Linked DNA regions of Homo sapiens: regions 1 and 3 are each linked to region 2. Evidence: promoter capture Hi-C in human tissues and cell types (Jung and others, 2019). All regions are on one chromosome and are shown on one strand. Each heading gives the region's core, a stretch centred on a gene start or on the middle of the fragment in contact. The rest is flanking DNA. Distances are from core to core; before and after follow the strand shown. Region 1 overlaps MAPT-AS1 (MAPT antisense RNA 1). Region 2 holds the start of SPATA32 (spermatogenesis associated 32). Region 3 holds the start of MAPT (microtubule associated protein tau).

Region 1 (2,963 bases), core at 173-2,672, 600 kb before region 2:
TGTTGTTGGTGACCCCTGGGCTGAGAGGCAATGACGTGGAGTTGGGGGCCAGTGGCATGACGAGACAAGGGCAAAATGGGTGAGCAGAGGCAGCCAGCCCAGGGAGGGGAGAAGAGGAAGTGGAGGCCCAGAGATTATGAAGCTCGGCGAGGCAGAAAGCTTTCTAATTCCCAGTTCCCATGAGCCCTGACTGGGCTGTTTGCCCTTCTGTTCTGAGAAATTCCTGTGTCCCTTCAAATATGCTTCTCTTTTGGCTTAAGCTACTTTGAGCAGTTTCTTATTCTTCAAAGCCGAAAGAGTCTTAAAGAGAATGCATCCATGACCCTCTCCCGCCACTCTCACATCTTGTTTATGTTCATCTCCAGGACCTTGGACAGGGCCCAGCACAGGGGCCCTGGAATGTGGACTGTCTCAGTGGATTCTTGTTTATAGGAATTAGAGGAAGGTGGAAGAAGCTCATTCCAGGTGAGCAGAGGCACGGAGCAAGGGTGAGCGTGTGAGAAGAGCCATGTGAACAGGATGTATAGGGGCCAGTGGAGGGAAGGCCAGTCAGGAGGGAAGGCTGGATGCAGATGGCCTTAAACACCAGGCTGAGGAGTTGGGGTTGGTTTGACAAATGGTAGGGAGGTATCAGAAGTCCTGCAGCTGGATGGACATGACAAAGAACAGTTGTGCCCTTTTCTTTAACAAGGATTCAGATGGCCTGGGTGACAGATGACATCTTGGGACTGAAATGAACAAATAATAAACCTATGCATGGAACTCTTACAAGAAAACATCAGGCAAAAGCTTACCAACATCGAATTTGGCAATGATTTCTTAGATATGACACCAAAGGCACAGACAACAGACTTCATAAAAAAGAAAAACTAGACTTCATAAAAGTTAAAAAAATTTTGTTAATCCTAAGACACTATCAACAGAGTAAAAAGGCAACCCACAGTATGGAGGAAAATATTTGCAAATTATATATCTGATAAAGGATTAATATTTAGAATATATAGAGAACTTCTAAAACTCAACAACTAAAAGACAAACAACCTGATTCAAAAAAGGACAAAGGTTTTGAAAATACATTTCTCCATTTAAAAAGACAAATGGCCAATAAGCACATGGAAAAATGAGCATTAGAAAAATGCCAATCAAAACTATAATGAGATATTACCTCATATCTATTAAGAAGACTGCTATTAAAAAAAAAAAACAAAAAAACAATACAAAAAAACCCCAGAAAATTGGCTGGACATGGTGGCTTATGCCTATAATCCCAGCAGTTTTGGAGGCTGAGGGAGATGGATCACCTGAGGTCAGGAGTTTGAGACCAGCCTGGCCAACATGGTGAAACCTTGTCTCTACTAAAAACACAAAAATTAGCCAGGCGTGGTGGTGCACACCTGTAACCACAACTACTTGGGAGGCTGAGGCAGGAGAATGGCTTGGACCCAGGAGGTGGAAGTTGCATGAGCCGAGATCGTGCCACTGTACTCTAACCTGGGCGACAAGAGCGAAACTCTGTCTCAAAACAAACAAACAAACAAACAACAACAACAAAAACCCAAAACCAGAAAATAGGTATTGATGAAGATGTAGAGAAATTGGAACACATGTGCACTATTGGTGGGAATGTAAAATGCTATAGTCTCTATGGAAACAGTATGGCAATCTCTTAAAAAATTAAACAGAGGCTGGGCACCGTGGCTTACACCTGTAATCCCAGCACTTTGAGAGGCTGAGGCAGGAGGATCGATTGAGCTCAGGAGCTCACAACCAGCCTGAGCAACATAGTGAGACCGCATCTCCACTAAAAAAAAAAAAAAAAAAAATTAGCCATGCATAGTGGTGTGCACCTGTAGTTCCAGCTACTTGGGGGACTGAAGTGGGAGGATTGCTTGAGCCCAGGAAGTCAAGGCTACAGTGAGCAGTGATCGTGCCACTGCACTCCAGCCTGGATTACTGAGCAAGACCCTGTCTCAAACAAACAAACAAACAAACACCATAAAGCCAGGGGCTCATGCCTGTAATCCCCGCTACTTGGGAGGTTGAGGGAGGATTGCTTGAGCCCAGGAGTTCGAGACCACCCTGAGCAATGCAGCAAGACCCCATTCCCAATAAATACATACATACATACATACATACATAAATAAATACATACATACATACATAAACAAAAAATTGAACATAGAATTACCATGTGATTCAGAAATTGCACTTCTGGGTATATAACCCAAAGAACTAAAAACAGGGCCTCAGAGATATTGAAAGTAATGGCAAAAACCACAATAAATTTTGCACTATCTAATATTTGCACACCAATGTTTATAGTAACCCAAGTTTCCACCAACAGAGGAATGAATGGCTAGGCAAAATGTGGTGCATACACACAGTGAATGTTACTCATCCTTAAAAAGGAAAGGAATCCTGCAGTATGCTGCCACATGGATGAGCCTTAAGGCCATTATGCTAAATGAAATGAGTCAGTCACAAAAAGACAAATTCTGTGTGATTCCACTTATATGAGGCACTTAGGGTAGTCAAAATCATAGAGACAGGAAGTAGAATGGTGGTTGCCAGAGGCTGGGGAGGAAGGCATGAGAGTTATTGTTTGTGGGTATGGAATTTCGTTTGACAAGATGAAGAGTTCTAGAAATGGATGGTGGTGCTAGTTGCACAACATTGTAAGTGTATTCAATAATATTGCTGAGCTGTACACTTTGATAAATTTTGTTATGTGTATTTTACCACAATTAAAAAAATAAAAACAAAACCAAACCCTTATGCGTGGGGAAAACAAATGACTGGATGGAAATAAAACAAAAGCTTATAGTAATGTGGATTTTTTTTTCTACTTTCCTGTGCTTTCCAATTTTCCTCTAGAGTGCAATCAATAACAGTGGAAAGAAGTCCCTGGAGCCCAGTGCAGTGGCTTGAACTGAGAATGCACTCACTGGCTGTTGCAGCCAAGA
Region 2 (2,766 bases), core at 216-2,715:
CACTGTAGGAGCATAGCAAGCCAGGAGATGGGGTGAAGGGACACAGTCTTGAGCTGTCCACATGCATGTGACTCCTCAAACCTCTTCCAGATTTCTCTAAGAATAGCACCCCCTTCCCCATTGCCCCAGCTTAGCCTCTTCTCCCAGGGGAGCTACTCAGGACTCACGTAGCATTAAATCAGCTGTGAATCGTCAGGGGGTGTCTGCTAGCCTCAACCTCCTGGGGCAGGGGACGCCGAGACTCCGTGGGAGAAGCTCATTCCCACATCTTGCCAAGACAGCCTTTGTCCAGCTGTCCACATTGAGTCAGACTGCTCCCGGGGAGAGAGCCCCGGCCCCCAGCACATAAAGAACTGCAGCCTTGGTACTGCAGAGTCTGGGTTGTAGAGAACTCTTTGTAAGCAATAAAGTTTGGGGTGATGACAAATGTTTCCAGGCCATCGGTGTCCTCTCTCTTGCCTGCCGGCCTGCTGAACCTCACGACCCTAACAGCTGCCTCTCTTTGCCTTCTTGCTGAGATCTTTTCAAGTCCCCCTTGTTTTGGACAAGGACTGTTTCAGCCCTTGAGTGGGGCTGCTTTCCCACCACTCCTCCCAGTGGCTGCTTCTAGTCCCAACGCTGGGCTAGTCATTCAGACCAGTTAGGCAAGATACCTTGCCCGGTGGCATCAGGGAAGTCCCTCGCCAAAATATGCCAGGCTGAGGGGTGGAGGAGGAGGACAACAAAGCCTGCATGCTTTGTGCCACTGCCCAAGTTAGGCAGCCCCCTACCACCAGAAGGGAAATAGGGATGGGTTCTGGGCCCTGACCATCCAGGGATGCCGGATGCACACCACAGGCCCTCCACCCTCCCCTCCTGTCCTTGAGGCCTGGACTCTTAACCCTTTCCGCTGCCTCCTGAGCCCTGCATGGGGCCAGGGATGCCTTTGTGGGCTGAGTTCCTTGGTCATGGAGCTGGGGCACACGGGGTGCTGAGTTCCTTGGTCATGGAGCTGGGGCACACGGGGTGCTGAGTTCCTTGGTCATGGAGCTGGGGCACACGGGGTGCCTTATCGAATCTGGCTCCACACTCCCTGTGTGCACAAGTGTGTGTGCGCGCGGCTTGGGTTGGTTTAGCCGGTTCTTGGAAGGGCCCTGGGACCACGAAAAGGGCGGCAGCCCTGAGCCGCTGGCGTGCAGAGCGGGTGCAAGTCCTGTCCAGCACAGCCAGGCTTACCTGCCGCCTGCCTCTCGCTCTAGGCCCGCTGCGGAAGCGCGAGCCCCACCCCCGAGGTCTTCGGAGAGGAAGGAGTTCTGGCTTCGGGCCCGCAGCCTTCGGAGGACGCCTCACTCGGGCCGTCCCCCGTCCGCCCGCCCGAAACCTAAATGCGGCTCCCTGCCTGTGGGGTCGCGGCGGGGACGTCACAGAGGCGGCGACATCACAGGCACCGGCGCCTCTAATATTTCCAGCGCCCACCAGTCCCTCAGCCAAAGAGCACACTGGAGGCGGAGAGGCAGCATCCACCAGCCCGCTCCCCGCCTCCAGGACAGAGCCTCGGTCTGCATGGGGGTGACAGGTGGGAGCGGCCGAGCGCCCGGGGGCGAGGGTTGGGGCAGGCGGGGAAAGCGAAAGTGAGAGGGGGAGGGGCGCGAAGGGGGCGGTCAGGAATCCGCCCAGGGCCCGTTCCCCTGCTCCCAAACCCCCGGCACCTGAAAGGCAGGTCGACCCGCCGCCAAAGCCCACCCGGTGCCCCTGACTACGGCTCCCAGCCTCAGCCCCTGCGCGGTGCACACCCATGTGCTCTCACGGACACGCATGCGCGCCTTGGAGTAGGGACTGCAGAGTCAGTGGTTCTTGAAGGGGTTCTGAGACCACAGAAGGAGCAATGGCCTTGTGCACAGGAAACGACTCATGAATTATCCTGAACTGCAGATCCAAAAAATCACATCCAGTTGTCCCTCCTTGATGCTTGAGGCTTTGCAGGGAGGAGCGGCAGTCTTCAGCACATTTTTACGGAGCGCTTCGTTGATGCCTTGTACTCTTCTCTGAACCAATGAGCAAAGATGTTTGCCCCCAGTGCCCTGTGTCTCCCCTTCCCATAGGGGCGTCAGATCCCCCACTGAAATGGTGGCTTTCTTTTGGGGATCCTCTCTCCCAGAAGGGCATGGGCCAGCATTAAAAACGGTCAAAAATTAGGTGGGCATGATGGCTCAACGCCTGCAATCCCAACACTTCGGGAGGCAGAGGTGGGAGGATCACATGAGGCCAGGAGTTCAAGATCAGCCTAGGCAACATAGCGAGACTTTGTCCTCTACAGGAAATGTTTAAAATTAGACAGGTGTGGCGGCATGAGCCTGTAGTCCCAGCTACTTGGGAGGCTGAGCTGGGAGGCTCACTGGAGCCCAGGAGTTGCAGTGAGCTATGATGCTGCCACTCCAGCCTGGGCCACAGAGCAAGACCCTGTCAAAAAAAAAAAAAAAAAAACCAGAGGTCGGGTGCAGTGGCTCACGCCTGTAAGGTAAAACGTAGATTAGACAGCCAGGTCTGTCATGGAGAGGATTACACTGATTATTTGAATTGGGCTTTCAGGCATGAGTAGGACTTTGCCAGAAGAAGGCTTTCCAGGTATAAGAAATAGCATTTGCAAAGGCACTGGGTGCAGAAAGGCCTGCGGTACTCTGGGGGTAGCTTCGGCTTAGGGTGAGGGACAGGAAGCTGGATGCCAAGAGATGAAAAATGAAGGTAGAGATCAGACCAAGAGGCCACATGGAGTCTGGGGGTAACCGG
Region 3 (3,047 bases), core at 97-2,596, 630 kb before region 2:
CAGCGCTGATTGTCCCCCTCCCTTTAATGCCAGGCCCCGCCCTGTCCTATGAAGCCCGGCCACCCGGTTTGGCATGGCACCGTAAAGACGTGACACGCCGAAAAAAGATGGCACCTCGCGTTCCGAGGGGGAAAAAAAGGGGGGCTGGGGGCGGGAGTGGGAGGAGGCACAGCCTATCCTCCCCCTTCCTCGCCCACCAGGGTCCACACCCACTGCCGCAGTGAGGGGCGAGCCCTGCGCGCCAGCCCCGCGCCTCCGGCAGGGAGCGCACACGCCGGGCGCCCTGCGCTCCGAGCGCTGAGAAAGAAATCCGCCCCGAGATGCACCTGCAGCCCCGCGCCCATCCGTGCGTGGCTGCGGCTGTGCGTGCCCGCGAACGGGGACCAGCGGCCGCCGAGTCCGTCCACATCGCCAGGCCAGGTGAACCCTGCCTTTGCGAGCGTGCACAGTGGGATCCGCGCACTGTTCTCAGGCACGGCGCTGCTCGCGTCTCTGTGCCAGGCGTGCGCAGGGGGAAGGGCAACTAAAGTGACAGCGCGTGGACCCCTCCCCATCTCCTCGATTTCTCCCAGCCCCCAAATGTCCCCTACGGGTTTCTGAAGGAGGAAAAGGGGAGGGGGCCGGCCCCCGCCTAAAATCAGGGGCAGTGAAGGCCCTGTCGGAATCACTGCTCGGGAGGTGCAGGGAGGGGCGTGCAGGGAGTCATCTTTTCTAGAACCCGATCCACGTCTTTCTTAGAGCTGATGGCGAACAGCGGCAGGGACAGCGGATTTCAGATTCGGTTTCGGGGGTCGTTATCGGACCCCTCCACACACACACACACACACACACACACACACACACACACACACGCCCATTGCGGCAAAAGGCTGCAGTCGAGAGTGAAGGGCAGCCCCCTCCCCCAAGTCACCGCCGCCGCGCCCCACCCTGCCGGCACAGCCTCCACCTGGGGTCTGCGCGAATCTGGTGGTGAAGACCCTCCAGCACACACACACGCGCGCACTCACGCGTGCGTGCATCCCTTGCTCAGGTCCCTTTCCAGGCCGCCCTGGCCCCAGCCCCCGAGCAGGGGAGGCAGGGAGGGGCCCTGCGGTGGCCCCGACCGATGCCCGGCGCACGAAGCCCCAGTCTGCGGAGAGGGAGGGCGAGGGGCGGCGGCGCAGGGGTGCACAGAGGCGGACGGCGAGGCAGATTTCGGAGCCGCGGCGCTTACCTGATAGTCGACAGAGGCGAGGACGGGAGAGGACAGCGGAGGAGGAGAAGGTGGCTGTGGTGGCGGCGGCAGAAGGTGGGCGGTGGCAGCGGCGCTGCTGTTGGTGCCGGAGCTGGTGGGTGGCGGTGACTGCGAGGGCGCGCGCCGGCGAAGAGGGCGCGTTCCTGAGGCCGGCGGGCGGCGCAGGCGCGAGCAGCGGGAACGCGAGCCTCCCCAGGGGAGGGGGCGGGCAGCGCGGCCTCCGCGGGAGCCTTCTCCTCCGGCCACTAGTGGGCGCGCGCGAGCGCCCTGCCGCTCGGCCGTCCGGCGTCTCCCGGCTCGTTCCTCTCGGCGCTGCCCTTTCGCGGTCCCCCTCCCGCTACGCCTCAGGCCGCGGCGCTGACCGCAGCGCGCACGCGCGTTCCGTGGCGCACGCGCTTTCTCCACCTCCTGTAGTTGGAGTCTTTGTGTCGTTGCGGGGGTGGGTGTCCTCCTTCGGGCCATGCGGGGTCGGGGCAAGGCCAGTGGCTCCGCCGCTGGGTCCGCTGCCCTTTACTTTCAGTCAGCCTGGGGCGGTGTCCTCTCCTACAGAAGTCCTGAGCGGCCTTCCACGTGGCCGGCCCTCGAGTCCGTCCGCCCCGACCCTTCGTAGTCCCGAAACCGCCCCCCTGGCTAAGGTCTCTTTCCCCCAGGCTGCTTCCTTTCTCCTTGCTTTTTTCCCACCTTTTTTGTTACTGACCAAGGTGAATCCTTTCCTTAACAAATCGGCTTAAAGCAAGCTAACTCAGTTACAATACAGTAGAACTGTACTTAAAAAAAAAGAAACGTGAATCTAACCGTTACGTCAGAAAAAAAAATCTTAAATTAGACGAATTTCAAACAGTGCTTAACACATCGCAGAGCATTTGCAGTTATTTGTATCACGTCTTTTGAAACACCTTTATGCTGTAAATAGAGCTTGAAGTCTGAATGTTTAAGGGCCAGCTAGAGATTGTCCCCTGGAAGACGCACCTCAGCCTGAAACTGACCAGTGGTCCTCATTCTGCTGGTCGCCCAGGCCCCAGGCTTCGGCCTTAGCTTGGATTTTTCATTTCCCCAACATCAAGTTTAAGCCCAAGCAGTGGGATGATTTCTATGTAGGGGGGTTTAGGGCAGCCATCTCCTCCTAGGGAGATGGGAAGTTGTCTTGAAGCTCCAATTTGCATAGCTCTTATATTCTTTTTAAAAAATCAACATATGTTATAGATTAATAGAAAAAGCAAGTAAAATGCTTTATTCACACAGTTTCTGGAACTGACCTTTTTCTCCTTTTTTTTTTTAAATGCATATTAACTTTATTTTTAAACAGAGGGGCATATACCCAAAGAAGTAGGAGTGAGAACCACCATGGGGGCTTGCTCAAAGCAATCTGCCCTAGCCTTCTGACTACAGAATGTCTCATGAGCCAATGGCCTGGAGATGGAGCTGCCCCTTGATGGTGTACACCTTAGAAAAGTCAGTGGAATTGACCTTTTTTTGGAGACAAGGTCTTGCTCAGGCTGGAGTGCAGTGGCACAATCGTAGCTCACGGCAAGCTTGAACTCCTGGGGCTCAAGCAATCTTCCCACCTCAGCCTTCTGAGTTGCTGGGACTACAGGTGGGCACCACCACACCTGGCTAACTTTTTTTTTTTTTTTTTTTTAGAGAGGAGGTCTTGCAGTGTTGCCCAGGCTGCTTTCTAACTCCCACCTCAGCCTCCCAAAGCGTTGGGATTACAGGCATGAGCCACTGCACTCAGCCTGGAATTGACTTTTTGTTGTTGTTGTTCTAACTGCCACCATCCTAGTTCAAGACCTCTATCTTGGTTCTGGACATG

Evidence for each region. Contacts are between HindIII fragments. The study calls those that stand out against the background at their distance.
Region 1: a contact is called between a fragment that was not itself captured here and the fragment with the promoter of SPATA32 in region 2, in 1 of the 25 tissues and cell types used here (dorsolateral prefrontal cortex).
Region 3: a contact is called between the fragment with the promoter of MAPT here and the fragment with the promoter of SPATA32 in region 2, in 1 of the 25 tissues and cell types used here (dorsolateral prefrontal cortex).

Annotation. Positions count from the first base shown.
Region 1 is chr17:45,855,621-45,858,583 of GRCh38, reverse strand. All of the region lies in intron 1 of MAPT-AS1 (MAPT antisense RNA 1), which reads left to right. Among named protein-coding and RNA genes, the nearest start is that of SPPL2C, 12 kb to the right of the region's middle. The HindIII fragment of the contact is 3,849 bases long and covers 1-2,963 here.
Region 2 is chr17:45,260,793-45,263,558 of GRCh38, reverse strand. It overlaps SPATA32 (spermatogenesis associated 32), which reads left to right and starts at 1,465. Exons shown (of 5, transcript NM_152343.3): 1 at 1,465-1,555. The coding sequence starts at 1,543. MAP3K14 (mitogen-activated protein kinase kinase kinase 14) reads left to right here. Exons shown (of 16, transcript NM_003954.5): 16 at 1-440. The region is part of intron 2 of MAP3K14-AS1 (MAP3K14 antisense RNA 1); the gene reads right to left. RefSeq lists enhancers at 424-1,027, 1,462-1,551, 1,028-1,633 and silencers at 1,582-1,631, 1,702-1,821. The HindIII fragment of the contact is 11,872 bases long and covers 1-2,766 here.
Region 3 is chr17:45,892,853-45,895,899 of GRCh38, reverse strand. It overlaps MAPT (microtubule associated protein tau), which reads right to left and starts at 1,346. Exons shown (of 13, transcript NM_001377265.1): 1 at 1,214-1,346. MAPT-AS1 (MAPT antisense RNA 1) reads left to right here and starts at 387. Exons shown (of 2, transcript NR_024559.1): 1 at 387-420. MAPT-IT1 (MAPT intronic transcript 1) reads right to left here and starts at 117. Exons shown (of 1, transcript NR_024560.1): 1 at 1-117. RefSeq lists enhancers at 1-517, 518-1,403. The HindIII fragment of the contact is 9,010 bases long and covers 1-3,047 here.